Regions from separate parts of the Homo sapiens genome. Here regions 1, 2, 3, 4, 6 and 7 are each linked to region 5. Evidence: promoter capture Hi-C in 16 types of primary human blood cells and fetal thymus (Javierre and others, 2016). All regions are on one chromosome and are shown on one strand. The core of a region is centred on a gene start or on the middle of the fragment in contact, and the rest is flanking DNA. Distances in the headings are between cores, read along the strand shown. Region 1 has its middle 6.5 kb from the start of ACBD6. Region 2 has its middle 31 kb from the start of XPR1. Region 3 has its middle 10 kb from the start of OVAAL. Region 4 has its middle 19 kb from the start of OVAAL. Region 5 holds the start of KIAA1614. Region 6 overlaps ACBD6 (acyl-CoA binding domain containing 6). Region 7 has its middle 21 kb from the start of LINC01732.

Region 1 (2,700 bases), core at 37-2,536, 400 kb before region 5:
AATACATATACAAAATATGTGTTACTCAACTGTTTGTGTTCTTGGCATGGCTTGCAGTCAACAGTAGTTGACTGCTTAGGGGTCGATCCCCTTATTGCTGAGTTGTTCAAAGCTTAACTGTTTATGTTTCTTTGAATCCCAAGAAAAATCAGCCAAGAAATCAGGAAGTCAAAAGAAAGTATTACAGTTCTGCAGGAATTGAAGTTTAGCAGTCAACATACACTGATTCAAACAAACCCGCTAACAAGTGAAAAGCAATGGCAGGAAACACTGACAAATGGAGTCTAAAGTGAGCAGAAAAAGGAGCAGGCAGGAAAGAAGTAGTGAAGATCTAATCAGTCTGGCTCATGATGGTGGCCATGTTGCATATGGTGTTCACAGCCCCATCTTCTGGTAACAATGAGTCATTCTTGCAAGTAAAATAAATATTGATGACATGATATGCATAATAAATAAAATTCTATGAGTCATGTTCTAAGAAATTAGAAGCAAAATAAGTCCTCAAACTGGCAATTTGTTTAAGTGATGCTGAGTAGTTCTATTAACCTTGCTAGAAGGTCTGAATGTTATGTTATTAGAATACTACCCAACAATGTTGTGGCATTTTCCAGTGTTTATATTCATTATAAACTACAGTTCTAAGTATTTCAAGAAGAAATGCAAAGAGAAAAATATGTGATTGTTGTAAAATGCTTCCCAACATAACATCTGAACTGATCTAAACATCTGAATTAACAAAAGTCATAATGAGAGGTGACGACCTACTGGCAGCCCTCACAGAGGGCTGGCTGTCAGCACCTCCTCGGCCTCGGCAGTGCTTGAGGAGCCCTTCAGCCTGCCGCTGCACTGTGGGAGCCCCTCTCTGGGCTGGCCAAGGCTAGAGCCGGCTCCCTCTGCTTGCAGGGAGGTGTGGAGGGAGAGGAGCAGGCTGGAACCGGGGCTGCGCGTGGCGGTCGCAGGCCAGCGTGAGTTCCAGGAGGGCATGGGATCTGTGGGCCCTGCACTTGGAGCGGCAGACCGGAAACACTGGCCCCGGGCAGTGAGCGGCTTAGCACCTGGGCCAGCAGCTGCAGAGGGTGGGCCGGGTCCCCCAGCAGTACCGGCCCACCGGCACTGCACTCGGATCCTCACAGGGCCGCAGCTGCTTCCCTGCAGGACAGGGCTCAGGACCTGCAGCCCACCATGCCCGAGCCTTCCCCCACCCCGCCATGGGCTCCTGCGCAGCCCTAGCCTCCCCAACGAGTGCCGCCCCCTGCTCCGCAGCACCCGGTCCCATCTACCGCCCAAGGGCTGAGGAGCCCGCAGGCACGCAGCGCTGGACTGGTTGAACAGCTCCGCCCGCTGCCCTGGCACGGGATCCACCAGGCGAAGCTGGCTGACCTCCTGAGTTGGTGGGGGGAGGTGGGACTTGGAGAACTTTTATGTCTAGCTGGAGGATTGTAAATGCACCAATCAGCACCCTGTGTCTAGCTCAAGGTTTGTGAATGCACCAATCAGCAGTCTGTATCTAGCTCAGGCTTTGTAAATGCATCAATCAGTGCTCTGTGTCTGGCTAATCTAGTGGGGGACTTGGAGAACTTTTGTGTCTAGCTCAGGGATTGTAAATGCACCAATCTGCACCCTGTCAAAACGGACCAATCAGCTCTCTGTAAAATGGACCAATCTCAGCAGGATGTGGGTGGGGCCAGATAAGAGAATAAAAGCAGGCTGCCAAGAGCCAGCTGCGGCAAGTCGCTCAGGTCTCCAGCTTAGTTGTTTTGCTCTCTGCAGTAACTCTTGCTGGTGCTAACTGTTTGGGTCCGCACTGTCTTTGTGAGCTGTGACACTCATGGCGAAGGTCTGCAGCTTCACTCTTGAGGCCAGCAAGACCACGAACCCACTGGGAGGAATGAACAACTCCAGACGCACCGCCTTGAGAGCTGTAACACTCACCGCCAAGGTCTGCAGCTTCACTCCTGAAGCCAGGGAGATCACGAACCCACCAGAAGGAAGAAACTCCAAACACGTCCGAACATCAGAAGGAACAAACTCCCGACACACCATCTTTAAGAACTGTAACACTCACCGTGAGGGTCCACGTTTTCATTCTTGAAGTCAGTGAGTTCAAGAACCCACCAATTGCAGACACAATAACTGTTTCAGTAGCATAACTGAAGTCAGGGCAACCAGACAAAATATTTTCCTCGTTACAAAAGTAACTGCACTGGGTTTAGTACAATTTAGGTTTTTGTGAAATATTGACATTTAAAAAATTTTTGTATCAATACCTTTTGAGGTATAAATTTTTTTTGTTATATGGATGAATAATGTAGTGGTGACTTCTGAGACTTTAGTGCACCTGTCACCCAAGTAGTGTACATTGTACTTAATATGTGGTTATTTATCTCTAACCCCATTCCCACCCTCCCCCTGCTGAGTCTCTAAACTCCATTATACCACTCTGTATGTCTTCATGTACTCAAAGCTTAGCTCCCGCTTACAAGCGAGAACATACAGGTTTTGGTTTCCCACTCCTGAGTTACTTCATTTAGAATAATGGCTTCCAGCTCCATACAAGTTGCTGCCAAAGACATTGTTTTATTCCTTTTCATGGCTGAGTGGTATTCCGTGGTGTCTATATACCACATTTTCTTTAGTCATTGGTTGATGGGCACTTAGGTTGGTTCCACATCTTTTGCATTTGTGCTACTATAAATGTGT
Region 2 (2,700 bases), core at 178-2,677, 310 kb before region 5:
TCTATAGGTACTGACAAAGATAAGATGTTAAGTCAAAAACAAACAAACAAACAAACAGAAATTGCCAAATAGTACGTATGGCAGATCCCATTTATGTAAAAATATGTGTAAATATAGTATGTGTTAGTATTTGAGTAGAAGGAATTTGAAACACTATGCACCACATTATTAATAACTGTTATGTCTGAGGGTGGAATTGCCAGGGCTTTTTACTTTCTAAGACATCTGTATGGTTTGCCTTTTATACAATAAGCATCTGTTACTTTCGAATCTGAAAGGGAATGGGGGTGCAAAAATAAAGTCACTCCAAAAAATTCAACTGATTTCTTAGTCATACAGTCAAACTAGCTGAGCTATCCAAATGCAAACATAAGAAGCTTACCAATGGGGAATGGACTGTACATACTGTAAAAGGTAGCATTGTTATATATTAATAAATATTACATACACAGGATAGGCTTCTAAGGGCAGAAGCAAAGAACAAATGCCAGAGAGAAAGAATTTTCTATTTCTCATTTAAAAAATTAACTTGTTAAAAAATAAACTTAATTTAATTGGAGAACTTTTTCAAACTCACAGACTTATTTTGGAAGATTACTCGTTTTAGTTACGTAACCTGAACCCTCAGTTTAGGAAAATGCTCAGCAAGAATATGACAGATGTTAATCGGTAGCATTTAATGGCAAATTGCTGATGTTGTTCAATTAATCATATCAGATCTAATGTCATGTTTTTCTGTGATTTGTGAGTCATCCCAGTGTGGTATAGTGAAAAGTATATAGGTTTTAGAGATTCCGCTTAGGTTCAAATCTCCCCTCTCCCACTATACTTCCAATTTGATTTTGGATCAATTACTTAACCCCCTTAAGCCTCGGTTGTTTGAATTAAATGTATTTTATAATAATAACTGCTTAATAGGCTTGTGATAAGGCCTAAACAAAATGATCTATAAAATGCATTTTATAAACTATAAAATGCTCTAGCATATAGTAGGCACTGAATATTGAGTGAATAAATGAAAGAATTAGGGAATATTATTCTAGACTTTGTTTAATGTCCACACAAAATGAGAGAGACAGAAAAAGAAAAACAGAGACAGAGAGGGTGAAAAGAGAGAGAGAGGAGAAGAGAAAGACAGAAAAGAGAGAAGAAAGGAGAAAGTTCCAGTTCCTTCAGGTGTGGAGTTTCCTAAGAATGAAAGTGACTCATGATTTAGAAAAGGAAAAAAGTGAACAAGCAATAACTGAATGCAAATCCTAGGTTTGGAATAATGCTGCAACATTTTGAAATTGCCACACAAATCACACATAATACCTACTATCCTTTAAGGCCTTCTCAAATGTCACAGCCATGATGAGGCCTTTCCTAATTTCCCAGGCAGTGGTAGGAACTTCCTCTATATGTTCCACAGCTAAGCGCTGGAGGTGTCAGCCATGAGAAACTTTGCCTTCCATCATGAAGTGCACTGCTCTCAGCTCGTTCCCAGGGAATTAATGCTAGGATGTTCTTTGCATAAAGGTAACTTTGGATTAGACTTGGGGGTATGTGCCTGACCCAAGGCGACCCATCTAATGAGGTCCTAGCATGAAAAGATTACCTGGGCCAATCAAATTCTCTTTCAGAGAAATTGAAACTAATAGAATCAAAAGAATTTGCTAGTTGGAGAGAAGAACCCACTTGCAGAGTGAGTTCCCTTAATGACAGTGCCCCAGAATGACAATTCTGTGACCCAAGTCCACTCTTGGTCCCATAGTTAGGAAATAGGTAAAGCTGAGCATACACTCAAGGATTTCTTAACTTAGTTATCCAACACAGGTGATTTTGGTGTGTGCAAGCACTTCAGAGAGGAGTTTAAAAAGCCCCGTTCTTTTAGAAATAAGTTGATATAGCAGCTTGCTTTTAGCTAATCACCCATTACTTTTCTTTCCTTATCCTACAGCTCTTCCCACTCTCCTGTTTGCCACCTACCATGCCTGCACGGCAATCTAGACACCAGAACATTTGAAGGACCGCAGAGCCAAACAGTTCAGGTGTGAGTCTGATGGCTAGTAGAGAGGTAGGGACCAGAGATACAGATTTGGAAGTTAACAAAACTGCTGATTTAAAATCTGCAAAAGTAGAGGAAGATGCCCAATGATTGTAAGGGTGGTTAGAAGATCCTAGAAGAAATTCTGTAGATACAAATGCTTAAACACTGGGCAACAGAGAAGGAGGAGAAGGAACTCGTGGAGGAACACTCAGAGAAGAGACCAATATAGAGACAATTGGCAATCCTTTCCCAAGAGGTTTCAGTGGGAAGGTAGAGATAGAATTGAGACTGCAATGTGTTTTGAAATGAGGTTGAACTAAGGAAGTGGAGCAGTGATTGTTGCTAACCCTCTTAAAGAGATTAGCAGAGGAGGAAATGTCCAGGAAGGCTTGGCATCCTTAAATGCTCCCTCTCCACCCATGGGCAAGGCTACAGGCATCCTATAAATGCAAGCTTGACTTAGCTATCTACACTTTGAGAATTCTTTCTGCTCTGGCTCTCATCCAGCTTTCTAAACTTTTGGTTCTATTCTTCTATCCTTACTTACCAATCTTTTAACTCCCATCCATTTTTTTCCTCTTTGCCCAGCTCATTTTAGATTGATACAGTGTGTGGCTGTCTCTTTGGTTCTGACCCTATTTCACCTGGAACACTATCTTCAGTTCCCTTTT
Region 3 (2,700 bases), core at 130-2,629, 340 kb before region 5:
CAAATGCATTGAATCCACTGATTTCCCTCTGCTTGCCACCCCAGCCTTCACCACCCCATCTCGACTTTCCCACAGGAAAACCATGTTAGGTGTTAGACAATGATGCCACACAATAGAAATATAAATCCAGTGTTTGTCTAGCATAATATAAATGGCACTGCTGAACTCCATCCTTCCTCCCATTGACAACATCAGAGAGATAGTTAGTGAGGGGCAAAATCATCTGTGATTGTCTCTGCATGGATGTTGAAATTGCTCCCCCCAGGGTCTTCTAGGGTTTTTAAGCATAAAGGTGTTCATCCAACTGAAAAAATTGTATATCTATAAGCAATTTGAGATTCAGCATGTCTGGCAATGCACATTTTTTTAAGGATGAGAAAATGCAGCATGAAATGTGTTTATGTATGCTGTGCTGGGGAATTTCTGAACCTTTCACTGTCATCTTGAAGCCTTTAAGAGGGAAGCTCTTGAGGATGTTGGATTATAAAAGTCATTCTCTCATTTCTGGGACTTAAGGACACGTCTCTGAGCATAACAAATGTGCGATCACAAATGAAGGTGCCTTGAGCTTAATGGAAGAAAGGTTTATCTTCAACACTGACATTTCTACTTCTCTAATAAAATCATATTGTGCCTCTTTTTTTATTAAAAGGTTTCTTCGCCCTTCCCCTTTCCTAGGGCTGATGGGATTCATCCCCTAAAGCTGGTGTGGTTGGCAGTAACAGGGCTGAGTAGATTTAGCTGGTATGATCAGGAGATTGGTTACAGGGGAATTGAGCAAATAAGTAAACATATTGAAAATGATGGGAGCCAGGCCGCTCACTGTTGGAGAGATCTATATTTGAGTTACAAATATAGAATGAAAGAAGGCTAGAATAAATGCTGTGGTGTTGGAATAGAACTGAAAGTATTGGTGTGAACTCCTGGTTTTTAATGTAAATATATAACAAAGATTTATGTGTATTATGTGTGTATATATAAATATATACATATATAGAGATACACATATACATGCATAGACATATCTATCTATCTATATACCTAATTTCCTAGCTCTATCTGCACCGAGTGCCTGAAAGTAAAGGCACCCAAGTAGCAATAAGCATACCTAGCATCCACATCATGGCTTCTAGATATTATTTTTTATTAAAAGGAAATAGGACTCCATCAGGAAATAGCTGATTCCAGGATGTGGTAGTTTTAAAACTGGTCCACTCGAAGATATCTACATCTTAACCCCTGGAACCTGTAAATGTTACCTTATTTGGAAAAAGGATTTTTGCAGATGTGATTAAGTTAAAGATTTTTAAATGAGGAGATTATCCTGGATTAGCCAGGTGGATCCTAAATGCCATCACAAGTGTCTTTATAAGAGAGAGACGGGGGAGATTACAGACAGAAGAGGAGACAGCGTGACTATGGAGGCAGTGATTCAGTCACAAGTCAAGGAGTGCCAGCAGTTACCCCAAGCTGGAAGGGGCAATAGACAGATTCTCCCCTAGAGCCTCTGGAGGGAGTGTGGTTCTGCCAATAGCTAATTTCATCCCATTAATATTGGTTTCAGACTCCTGGCCTCCAAATTTGTAAGGGAATAGTTTCTGTTGTTTCCAAATCTGTGGTAATTTGAGATGGCAGTCAAAGGAAGCTAATATACAGGCCTGGGGCAGGGAATGTCCAAGATGAGCCTGGAGCATCTTCTTGAGCCAGAAAGTGAGGTGATGCTCAGGATGAGAAAGGACACAGGGACCAGCCTGAAGGGACTTCCATGGGCCAAAGTGAGGGCAATAAAGAATCAAAGGGAATATCAAGAATAAAAGTTGGGCACGGTGGCTCATCCCTATAATCCCAGCACTTTGGGAGGCCAAGGCTGGTGGATCACCTAAGGTCAGGAGTTCGAAACCAACCTGACCAACATGGTGAAACCCCATCTCTACCAAAAATTACAAAAATTAGCCGGGCATGGTAGTATGTGCCTGTAGTCCTAGCTATTCAGGAGGCTGAGGCGGGAGGATTGCTTGAGCCCAGGATGTTCAGGTTGCAGTGAGCGGTGATTGTGCCACTGCACTCCAGCCTGAGCAACAGACCGAGATCCTGTCTCAAAAAAAGAAAGGAGAGAGAGAGAAAAGAAAGAAAGAGAAATGGAATTAGAATATCACCATTTGGCAACCAACAGAATGGAAATTAATTTGGACAAGAATCATCAATGGATGCAAAAACTAGTGGATGACAGTTTGATGAGAAACAGCATCTTTACATTATCTCACAGTGTCTTCCAACAAAATACTTGTTAACTCTTATTACCCATTTTTAATTTAACATCACCAGTAATGGGACAAATTGACATCATGTACCCTTGATATGATAGACTGAGAACAAAGCATTACTCTGTGGTGTTCCTGCCAAAAATGCATGACATAAAGCTAATCACGAGGCAGTATCAGACAAACCTGAACTGAGGAGTATTCTACAGATAACTGGCTGTACCCTTTGAAAATGTCAGAGGCATGCAGGACAGGGAAAGGCTGAGAAACTGTTCCAAATTAATTACTTCCAACAACCAATCCTCAACTGCATTCTGGACCCATAAAGGATATTATCAGGGCAGATGGTAAAATTGGAAGTTTGTGAATAAATGGTGACATTGTATTGATGTTTCTACTTAGTTATGTAGGAGAATGTCCTGCTTTTAGGAAATGCACA
Region 4 (2,700 bases), core at 170-2,669, 370 kb before region 5:
AAGAAAGGCTTGAAAGAGGTGAAGGAGTGAGTCAAGCAGATTTATGGAGAAGGAGCTTCAGGCAGAAGGAACAGCTAGAGTGATAGTTCTCAAAATGTGATTCCCTGTCAAGACAAAGTGCATTAACATGATCTGGGAACCTGTTGGAAATACACATTTTCAGGTCCCATCTGAAACTCTGGAAGGCCCAGCAATCTTTCACTGGAGGGTTCTGGTGTTCCCTAAAATTTGAGAGCTACTGATCAAGAGGAAAGATCTAGTGGGTTTGTGCTGAGCTTGTGCCAGGCTTGTACAACCCCAGCATAACTAAAGTGAAATGCACCAGAGAAAAAGAAGCGATAGCGGAGATTGGAGGGGCTCTATTGAATGCTCTCATGCTAGACGTCGCATTTTTATCTGAAGTTCTACTTATGTAGTAATTTAAGAAGCCTCTCCCCCAAAGGAAAAAAAAAGTACGGTAGCATTAGTTGGCCCTGCTCAGAGTACATGACAAGAAGCTCCAATCATAGACCAGTTGAAAGTGTATGTTACAGAGAAGCCAAACACCTCACTATAATTAACTGTTTTATCAGCTGCTTTGAAAACCTATCATCGAGAATTTCCAAATGAAAAAGACTTGGGTTTCCCAGCTGAGACTGTTTGGAACCTGGTCGCTGGGGTTTTCCACAAACTAAGCTATCATTAAATATTTCTACCACTGAAGGGGGTCATTAGGTGTGCAAGCCCATTCGATTTAAATTCCTACTTATTTTGGTTGTGGATCTCGATATAGATTTGTGTCCCTAAGGCAGAAAAGAAGATGTTGGCATTTATGGATCTTAAAAATGTATTTTTTTTTCTAAAGATCTTAATGGATAAAGTAACTAGGGCTACAACAAGAGCTGGAAGCTTACACCCAAATATTTTGCCTGAACAATGGCTCCTTGTTTTATTTCTCAGTTAAGAAAAATGCCCAGGGACTGGCCAGGATAAGCAGTTCTTCCCTCATACTCATCCACCTGGCCAAGCAGCAATGTTCAGCTCTGTGGACACTGACAGCAAGAGGAGGTAGGTTGGGAAAGGGCCTGCAGGGCAGGCCTATGGGGAAGACACTGGGCTCAGAGAGCAGCGCCTTTAAAGTACATATACAGCCTGGCCAACATGGTGAGACCCTATCTCTACTAAAAATACAAAAATTAGTCAGGCCTGGTGGCATGCGCCTGTAATCCCAGCTACTCGGGAGGCTGAGGCAGGAGAATCGCTTGAACCTGGGAGGCGGAGGTTGCAGTGAGCCAAGATCGCACCACTGCACTCCAGCCTGGGTAACAGAGTGAGACTCTGTCGAAAGAAACAACAGAACGAACGAACGAAAGAAAGAAAGAAAGAAAGAAAGAAAGAAAGAAAGAAAGAAAGAAAGAAAGAAAGAAAGGAAGGAGGAAAGAAGGAAAGAAGGAAAGAAAAGAAGTAGGCCTGCTAACAGTGTCAGGTCCTCTGGTCTTCAGCAGGGGACAGATGGAAAAGAATTTTAATGGGTCTATGCTGACTGGTGCCATCCCAATTTTATGCCTTATCTTCCTGACATATTTTGCCAGCTTGTTCACAGATATACCCTTTGGTTATATATATATACCTGGGATTCTGATTTAAGCAGGTACCGAACCTTGGACTGTATCAACTCTACTTCGGTTTCATGGACTAGATTCTAGGGTCCAGCCCAGGCTTTCCCAGCACCAATCTTGGCCTGCCCCTGACTTTATCTTGACAGTGTCCCAGTAGTTAAGTTCCCCTGTGAGCCCCTCACTCTGACTCACCTGGAGCTCAGAGGTTTCCCTGTGCTTAGGCCCATCTCCCGTGGTGCCTCTACCTAGAGTCCTTCAGCTGCAGTTTTGGCTTCACTGTCTACTCCTTATTTTTTTGAGGTCTGACCTCAGAGTATCTTAAGAATGCAATATTTAACAAAACATATCCCTCCAAGCTTTGCAATATCCCCTGTGATCCCATTTCATGGGTAAGAAACCAAAATTATTATAGTCGATGAATAATAACCCCACTGATTCACAGGAACATTAAGAAAACCTTGCCAGGCTAAGCAATTCCAGGCAGCCTTCAGCCGCCACCACCGGTGATGAATCACAGAGGCTGCTGCCAGAGATGGGACATTTTGGGACTCTGCACATACAACTTAAGACACAGGATGGGAGTGGAGGTGAGAAAGAGAAGACATAAGATCCGTCCAGGGCAAAGGATTCAAAGGTCACCAGGACTACACTCACCTCCTGAGACCTGGTGACAGCAAAAACATTTCCTCGACGTGACTTCTATTTGGAAGTTGAGGAGACAGTTCAGCCACCTTGTAGAGTATTTTGCATCAGCTAATGCTCCCTGGCCTGACACACTCACAAACTCTGACCCATTTAGATAACCTCCCCTCAACCAAAAAAGAACGCACTTTCACCAGCCCCTGAAAATCTCCCAATGAATTTATCTTTTTAAAATGAGATAATTACACACGAAGCACTTAGAACAATGCCTGGCGCATATTCAGCACTGACTACGTGCTAGCTATAGTTGTTATTTTTGTCTGTGGTCTGAAGACAGATGCAGTGCCACTTGTCTCTTCAGACGCCAGTATCTCAATGCCCCTCTTCACCCGTGCCACACCCAGCCTACCAGGTCTCATTTCATCGAAAAACAAACAACAATAACAGCAACCCTCCCGCC
Region 5 (2,700 bases), core at 110-2,609:
GATATCAGGATATCAGGACACTCCTAAGTCTGGGTCTGTTTAGCAAACGTTATTAATTTGTTCTCTTAACCGTAAATATCTAGAAGCTGGGTATAGCTAACTCACTGGGAATGTGGCCCAGCAAGTCCCAGCCTCATTTTCCTCGCCCTCACACAAGATGGAGTCGCTCTGGTTCGAAGCCTCTGACGTAACCTTGGGCCTGTACTGTGACACAGAGGGTTTGCACTGGATAATCTCTCAAGCTCCTAGATTGCCAAGACGCCAGTCCACTCACAGCTCCCCAGGCTCCGCTCTCCTGTTGCCCTGCCAGACGCCCCTTCCCCCACCTTGTGCAGAGTAACCCCCTCCTGACTCAAGAGGCAGCCCCTCTAGAAAACTTCCTTCCCCTCCTCCCCTGCCCCGGTACATATTGCGCGGCCCTTACTGTTGCTGTGTCTGTCCTGTCATCTGGAGGTGCACAACTACCCCATGCTTCACAGTGAAGCCAGTCGGCTGAAGGAAAGATGAACGGGCACTTTCTCTTTGTAGAGATTTCCGGAATCTCCTGAGGCCACTTTTATTGCTTCCCGTCTTTGTGAAAAAATAGGCTTGGAAATAGGTGAGGCTCGGTCACCCCCTCTGGGTGGAAGGAGAAAGCAAGCTCCGTCGGTTTGGGCCGCGGCTGCAGGGAATGCCCCTGGTTGCGACCCCCGTCCCGCGCTGGGGAAAGTGATCTGCTCGAGAGCCCCCAGGACCCTGAGAACCGGTCCCCACCCAAGGCGGCGGCGGGCAATTCCGGCACCGCGGCAGACGGGATGCGCGGAGCGCGTTCCCTCCGGGTTTCCCTCACGCCTCTGGAGAGCGGGAACCAACGACCTTGACCTCGGAGGAAACGGCTCTACGGAGCGATGGACGGCCCCACAGAGAGGGCGGCCGGCTCCTCTGGAAAACTTGTCCACACAAAAGGCATTCCTCAGCTTCCACCCCGAAAGGCGAGCCCTGGGTGTAGGGTTACCAGCGGCGCGCGGAGCCCGCCGAGAACGTGGTGCGCCCCCAGCTCCTGCCCGCGCTCCCCGGCCTCCGTGCGCCCCGCGCGCCTCCGCTCTTGCGCCCGCTTTCCCGCGGGGAAGGGGCCACCGCCCTGCGAGGCTGGCGGCCGCCCCGTCGTCCCCAAGCTCGGGGCCGCCCTGGACTTCCATCCCGCGCCTCTGACGGCCGGGGACACTCGCTCCCTGGGCCGCGGCTCAGGAGAGGCGGCCCCGCGGGGCTCCGGGCGGGGTGGGAGGCCGAGGCCCGGCTCCTCCAGCCCCTCCCGCGGCCCCACCTCTCCGCGCTCGGCTCCCTCTGCCCAGCGCGGGCCGGGAAGGCGCGGGCTTGGCCGCTCTTCCCCTCCACGGCAAAGCCGTGAACGGACAGCTGATGCCACTTCCTTCCCTGCCAGCGCCCTCCCTGCCCGACCCCGCTTCCCGTCCTCTCGCCGGGAGGGAGTGCGGCCCGTGGGGCGCTGCGCCGGCCAGACCCACCCGGGGCCCGGGGGCTGCCAGCAGAGCCGGGAGCTGGCCCGGCCTCGGCGCCGTCCCGGACCCCCAGTCGGCCGCGCCCCGAGGGGCGAGGCCTGCGGGCCGCACTCCCTCCGGCCCCGGATTCGGGGCTGGAAGTCCCTCCCCGAACCCAGCAGCTGGCCTGGGAGGGAGAAGGGGCTGGAGAGGGCCTGGCCTCTCCGAGGGATGGAGGGGACAGAGGCGGCGGCGGCCAAACCCGCGGGCGGCAGCCCCCAGTGAGTATAGAGGAGGCAGCGCCGGGCCGGCCGGGCGGGGGTGGCGGACCGGCGGGGCGGAGGAGCGGGGAGCCCAGGTCGCCCCGGCCACTGGGAAGCGGGCCTCCCACGGGCTCGGAGCTGGAAGGGTCGTGGGGAGGCCCGCCCTTCACGTCCATCTTCGTTTGGCCCCTCTGAGTTAGGGGAAATACATCACAGTGCTTGGGCCATAGAACCAGGCAGCTCCGAGCTGACCGATCTTCCCGAAAGCCCGTGCCCAGGGGACTCCAGTGGGAGGGTCTCATTCTTTAAGGTCTCTGGCGTGCTGTTCCAGAGTTTACCCATCAACAATTCTTACTTTAATTTTTTGGAGCCAGGGTCTCGCTCTGTCGCCCAGGCTGGAGTGCAGTGGTGCGATCATGGCTCACTGCAACCTCGACCTCCCGGGCTCAAGCCCGGCCTCCTCTGGCTTCAGCCTCCCCAAAAACAAAAAGTTATTTTAACTTAACAGAAATTGCTCATATTACATTCTAATCCCCTGTTTTCTGGATTGGACTTTAGAGGAGAAGAAGGAGATGCAAAGAGAAACTTGCTGCATTCTAGATTAACTCATAGAACAAATTATTTCTGTCCTCCTAAAGATAATCCTTAAACTTTACTGGCTTAAAACTGGTGTGACATTTCGCATTATATGTGTATTTTGCTTTATAAAATATGTGCATTCCTGAAAGCTTGTGTATAAATTGAATTGTAATAAACGACTACAGAGAGACTTGCCATTTAAGAGAATTTTATGGTGAATACTTGGTCCGTGTTACGAAGTGGATAACTCCTAATTTGTAGTGTATACACATAAGGATTTTTATGCACAAAGTTTACTTCAAGGGGGGGGGGACATCTAGATGTGTGATATTAAAGTTGTATTTTTCTCAGAAGGTAGAATCAATATTAAAACGCTGTGGCAT
Region 6 (2,700 bases), core at 56-2,555, 420 kb before region 5:
ACTGAAATACCTGTTAATCATTTAACAATATTCTTAAATAGTAACCTCACCTTTATTAAATTCTTTCTAGATGTTCTCCAATAAGTATATGAGAAAAACAGGGTATATTTAAGTGAACAATATCCAATGCTTCCAAAGTCCAAAGCAATCCCTTTTCCTGCTGGATTCCCTAGCATTTACATTATTATTGTTTTATACTATTAAAGATATATATTTTGATATGTTTTATCTTCTCTATTACACTTTAAACTACATAATGGCAGAAATCATGTCTTATTCATCTTTTATCCCTAATAAGCATTTTGCCCTTGCATAGAAAGTGATCATAAAAACGAAATCCAAGAGTAACCTTTTTTCCAGCATGATAATCTCAAGTTAAACTCTTTCCAATTCTTATGTAATTCAAATTTTTCTGCTTTCAAAAACTCTGCAACTCAGAGAAGTTCTCAGCATCAGTAGCTGGTTATATTACTATTTAAGTAATTATTATTAATTTTTTTCATTTTTCTGAGATGGAGTCTCACACTGTCACCCAGGCTGGAGTGCAGTGGCCTGATTTTGGCTCACTGCAGCCTCAGCCTCCCAGGTTCAATTGATTCCCCTGCCTCAGCTTCCTGAGTAGCTGGGATTACAGGTGTGTACCACCACGTCCAGCTAATTTTTGTATTTTTAGTAGAGATGAGATTTCACCATGCTGGCCAGGCCGGTCTTGAACTCTTACCTCAGGTGAACCACCTGGCTTGGCCTCCCAGAGTGCTGGGATTACAGGTATGAGCCACCACACCTGGCCAGCAATTATTTTATTAGATAAATATTACAATAACTTTAAAATATTTCAAGAAAGTAAAACTTTAAGCATGTTACTTAAAACTAAGTTTAGTTTTAGACATTTATTTCAGAGAAGGATCATAAGTTTTTGGAAAGTATTATTTATAATCATTAAGTCTTACCTGAGGATTCCAACCTGGATCTAGTTTTTTAACTACTGCGATATATTCCTGCATTGCTTGGCTGGGGCTTGAATCACCAAGTGCTTTCCAAGCTTCCCTACAATATGGAATATCCAAAATGGCCTGTCATTATGCAAATAACACAAACAGCATTTTTCTTATTATTAAAAAAACTGTATGCACATTTCAAGGGTCTCTGAATATAGAGATAATAAGCTATGGATAGAGAAGCTCTGTCTTTTTGCATTTACATTGGTCTAGAGCTATACAGACCTTATTGCCCTACCTAAGCAGTCTTTTCAGACATTTTTTTTCCTAATCGTCCTCCCCGTGAAATTTTAAAAACACAGATACAATGCATAGCTATTAAATTTTGAAAGACCACAAACCACTGTAATCTAAGATTTTATAATTTCCTCAAACAAAATTTCACCCCTATTGAGGATATATGATCTACAGACTAATAGAGATTATTCTCATAAATTAACTGTGCTTATGGCATTTTGGTCGTACAGAAACTAATCATCACATAAAAAACAATATTCCCAAGGAAAATGCATCAAACTTCTTACTAAGATACAAGAAATCCACCTTCCCTTTCTGCTGTTATCTCATCTATAAGCTTCTAGTAACTGATCCTGGGGACTTAGTCTGGGACTTCAAAAGTAAGGGATGGTGAGGGCAGAAATAAGAATACTGGCCAGGCTTGGTGGCTCACGCCTGTAATCCCAGCACTTTGGGAGGCTGAGGCAGGTGGACCACCTGAGGTCAGGAGTTTGAGACCAGCCTGGCCAACATGGTGAAACCCCATCTCTACTAAAGATACAAAAATTAGCCAGGCGTGGTGGTGTGCGCCTGTAGTCCAGCTACTCTGGAGGCCGAGGCAGGAGAATTGCTTGAACCTGGGAGGCAGAGGTTGCAGTAAGCTGAGATGGCACCACCACACTCCAGCCTGGGCAACAGAGCAAAATTCTGTCTCAAAAAAAAAAAAAAAAAAAAAAAAAAAAAAACAACAACAGCAACTAAAGAATACTAATGAGTAAGTTAGGGACTTCCTACAATATAAATGGCAAAAGCAACATTTTAGTCCTGAGCTTCCTTTTGGGTCATCTACCCCCCTGCCCCCACAACAGGCTGCCAGGACAGGCCTTCTTCTTGGTTTTTCCCTGCCAATTCTTTCTAAATTCCAACCAGTGTTTCTCGATTTCCCTGATTTGCTGTCAAACAGAACTCAATCCCACATTTTTTCACTACCTTCCTGCTTCTATGATGAATATAATATCTTTCTGAGGTTTTCTAAATTTATTTTCACTGAATTCCTTAAGAATTACTTATACGCATCATAACACTTCATCCCTAAATAGATCAGCTTACACAAACTCAGGAAATTTATCATCAATTACTATTATACAATATAGAGGCTATACATTCAGATTTTCCTGATTGTCCCAATAATGTCCTTTATGGCTTTCTTCTCCCACACCAGGAACCAATCAAGATCCACACACAGCATTGAGTTTCATGTATCTTCAGCTTTTTTGTCTTCCACATTGTTGGTATTTTTTAAGAGTCCAACTGTTTTATAACATATCCCTCAATTTGAATTTGTCTAATTGTTTCCTTACCTACAGTGTTCTTGCCAAAAATGATTAATCATGATTAGAATTGGGTTAAATTATTTCAGCAGAGTAATATATAGGTGACATGCCCTTTTCAATGCATCACACTGGGGGCACGTGATGTTAGTCTG
Region 7 (2,700 bases), core at 41-2,540, 280 kb after region 5:
CTCCCATAATTCCCATGTGTTGTGGGAGGTACTGGGTGGGAGATGATCGAATCACAGGATAGGTCTTTCCCATGCTGTTCTTGTGATAGTGAATGGGTCTCATGAGATCTGATGGTTTTAAACACAGGAGTTTCTCTGCACAAGCTCTCTTTTTGCCTGCTGCCATTCACGTAAGATGTGACTTGTTCCTCCTTTGTTTCCACCATGATTGTGAGGCTTCCCCACTCACGTGGAACTGTGAGTTCTCCATTGAACCTCTTTCCTTTGTAAATTGCTCAGTCTTGGGTATGTCTTTATCAGCAGTGTGAAAACAGACTAATAGAGTAAGTTGGTACCAGTAGAGTGGGGTGCTGCTGAAAAGATATCCAAAAATGTGGAAATGACTTTGGAATTGGGCAACAGCAGAGGTTGGAACAGTTTGGAGGGCTCAGTAGAAGACAGTAAAATGTGAGAAAGTTTGGAACTCCCCAGAGACTTGTTGAATGGCTTGGACAAAAATGTTGATAGTGATATGAACAATAAGGTCCAGGCTGAGGTGGTCTCAGATGAGATGAGGAACTTGTTGGGAACTGGAGCTAAGGTGACTCTTGTTATGTTTTAGCAAAAAGACTGGTGGCATTTTGCCCCTGCCCTAGAGGTTTGTGGAACTTTGAACTTGAGAGAGATGATTTAGGGTATCTGGCAGAAGAAATTTCTAAGCAGCAAAGCATTCAACAGGTGACTTGGGTGCTGTTAAAGGCATTCAGTTTTATAAAGTTTTATAAGGGAAGCAGAGCATAAAAGTTAGGAAAATTTGCAGCCCAACAATGTGATAGAAAAGAAAATCCCATTTTCTGAGGAGATATTCAAGCTGGCTGTAGAAATTTGTGTAAGTAAAAAGGAGCTGAATGTTAATCCCCAAGACAATGGGGAAAATGTCTCCAGGACATGTCAGAGGTCTTCACAGCAGCCTCTCCCGTCACAGGCCTCGAGGCCTAGGAGAAAAAAGTGGTTTCGTGGGCTGGGTCCAGGGTCCCCATGCTGTGTGCAGCCTAGGGACTTGGTGCCTCACATCCCAGCTGCTCCAGCCATGGCTGAAAGGGGCCTACATAGAGCTTGGGCCATGGCTTCAGAGGGTGCAAGCCCCAAGCCTTGGTGGCTTCCATGCGGCATTGAGCCCACAAGAGCACACAAGTCAAGAACTGGGGTTTGGGAACTTCTGCCTAGATTTCAGAGGATGTATGGAAACACCTAGATGTCCAGGCAGAAGTTTGCTGCAGGAGCAGCGCCCTTATGGAGAACTTCTGCTAGAGCAGTCCAGAAGGGAAATGTGGGTTGGGAGCCCTGACACAGTCCCTACTGGAGCACTGCCTAGTGGAGCTGTGAGAAGAGGGCCACCATCTTCCAGACCCCAGAATGGTAGATCCACTGACAGCTTCTACCATGCACCTGGAAAAGCCACAGACACTCACCACCTGCCCATGAAGGCAGCCAGGAGGGAGGCTGTACCCTGCAAAGCCATAGGGGCAGAGCTGTCCAAGACCATAGAAACCCACCTCTTACACCAGCATGACATGGAGTCAAAGGAGATCATTTTGGAGCTTTAAAATTTGACTGCCCTGCTGGATTTCGGACTTGCATGGGGCCTGTAGCCCCTTTGTTTTGGCCAGTTTCTCCCATTTGGAATGGCTGTATTTACCCAGTGCCTGTAACCCCACTGTATCTAGGAAGTAACTAACTTGCTTTTGATTGTACAGGCTTATAGGTGGAAGGGACTTGCCTTGTCTAAGATGAGACTTTGGACTGCGGACTTTTGAGTTAATGCTGAAATGAGACTTTGGGGGACTGTTGTGAAGGCATGAATGATTTTGAAATGTGAAGATATGAGATTTGGGAGGGTCTGGGGCCAAATGATATGATTTGGCTCTGTGTTCCCACCCAAATCTTATCTTGTACCTCCCATAATTCCCATATGTTGTGGGAGGGACCCAGTGGGAGATGATCGAATCATAGGGGTGGGTCTTTCCTTTGCTGTTCTTGTGATAGTGAATGGGTCTCGTGAGATCTGATGGTTTTAAAAACAGGAGTTTCTCTGCACAAGCCCTCTTTTTGCCTGCTGCTATTCACATAAGATGTGACTTGCTCATCCTTGCCTTCCACCATGATTGTGAGGCTTCCCCAGCCATGTGGAACTGTAAGTCCAAAAAACCTCTTCCTTTTGTAAATTGCCCAGCCTTGGGTATGTCTTTATCAGCAGCGTGAAAATAGACTAATACACCTTGTCATGAAAGTATGATTGTGGCTGGGCATGGTGGCTCATGCCTATAATCCCAGCACTTTGGGAGGCCAAGGCAGGAAGATTGCTTGAGTTTGAGACCCCAGCCTGCACAATATAGTGAGACCCCATCTTTACCAAAAATTAGCTGGGAATGGTGGTGCAAGCCTGTGGTCCTAGCTACTTGGGAAGCTGAGGTGGGAGGATCACTTGAGCCCAGAAGTTCAAGGCTGCAGTGAGCTATGATCGTACCACTGCTCTCCAGCCTGGGTGACAAAGACCCTGTCTCTTAAAAAAAAAAAAAAAAAAAAGAGTAACCAAAAAATAAAAAGTCGAGGAAGAAGGGAAAAAAACACTGGGAATGCCCCACTGGCTGGGAAACTTCTATCAGCCAATCGCAGATACTGAAGGCTAAATTCCAGTTCAACTTTTTAGGTTACTTACTT

What was found. Contacts are between HindIII fragments. The CHiCAGO score rates a contact against its expected background, and 5 or more counts as called.
Region 1: a fragment that was not itself captured here is called in contact with the fragment with the promoter of KIAA1614 in region 5 in 10 of 17 cell types (endothelial precursors, megakaryocytes, erythroblasts and 7 more); the score reaches 9.4 in endothelial precursors.
Region 2: a fragment that was not itself captured here is called in contact with the fragment with the promoter of KIAA1614 in region 5 in 2 of 17 cell types (neutrophils and endothelial precursors); the score reaches 5.5 in neutrophils.
Region 3: a fragment that was not itself captured here is called in contact with the fragment with the promoter of KIAA1614 in region 5 in 1 of 17 cell types (naive B cells); the score reaches 5.5 in naive B cells.
Region 4: a contact is called between a fragment that was not itself captured here and the fragment with the promoter of KIAA1614 in region 5, in 17 of 17 cell types (megakaryocytes, monocytes, endothelial precursors and 14 more). The highest score is 7.7, in megakaryocytes.
Region 6: a fragment that was not itself captured here is called in contact with the fragment with the promoter of KIAA1614 in region 5 in 1 of 17 cell types (fetal thymus); the score reaches 6.5 in fetal thymus.
Region 7: a fragment that was not itself captured here is called in contact with the fragment with the promoter of KIAA1614 in region 5 in 1 of 17 cell types (monocytes); the score reaches 5.3 in monocytes.

What each region holds. Positions count from the first base shown.
Region 1 is chr1:180,507,686-180,510,385 of GRCh38, forward strand. No RefSeq gene overlaps it. Among named protein-coding and RNA genes, the nearest start is that of ACBD6, 6.5 kb to the left of the region's middle. The HindIII fragment of the contact is 2,352 bases long and covers 111-2,462 here.
Region 2 is chr1:180,599,293-180,601,992 of GRCh38, forward strand. No RefSeq gene overlaps it. Among named protein-coding and RNA genes, the nearest start is that of XPR1, 31 kb to the right of the region's middle. The HindIII fragment of the contact is 2,105 bases long and covers 376-2,480 here.
Region 3 is chr1:180,567,974-180,570,673 of GRCh38, forward strand. No RefSeq gene overlaps it. Among named protein-coding and RNA genes, the nearest start is that of OVAAL, 10 kb to the left of the region's middle. The HindIII fragment of the contact is 4,766 bases long and covers 1-2,700 here.
Region 4 is chr1:180,538,827-180,541,526 of GRCh38, forward strand. No RefSeq gene overlaps it. Among named protein-coding and RNA genes, the nearest start is that of OVAAL, 19 kb to the right of the region's middle. The HindIII fragment of the contact is 1,066 bases long and covers 887-1,952 here.
Region 5 is chr1:180,911,538-180,914,237 of GRCh38, forward strand. KIAA1614 reads left to right here and starts at 1,360. Exons shown (of 9, transcript NM_020950.2): 1 at 1,360-1,756. The coding sequence starts at 1,707. LINC02816 (long intergenic non-protein coding RNA 2816) reads left to right here. Exons shown (of 4, transcript NR_185877.1): 4 at 1-2,519. RefSeq lists a silencer at 1,156-1,455. The HindIII fragment of the contact is 8,183 bases long and covers 1-2,464 here.
Region 6 is chr1:180,491,319-180,494,018 of GRCh38, forward strand. ACBD6 (acyl-CoA binding domain containing 6) reads right to left here. Exons shown (of 8, transcript NM_032360.4): 3 at 951-1,047. Among named protein-coding and RNA genes, the nearest start is that of ACBD6, 9.9 kb to the right of the region's middle. The HindIII fragment of the contact is 530 bases long and covers 1,041-1,570 here.
Region 7 is chr1:181,193,701-181,196,400 of GRCh38, forward strand. No RefSeq gene overlaps it. Among named protein-coding and RNA genes, the nearest start is that of LINC01732, 21 kb to the left of the region's middle. The HindIII fragment of the contact is 2,944 bases long and covers 1-2,700 here.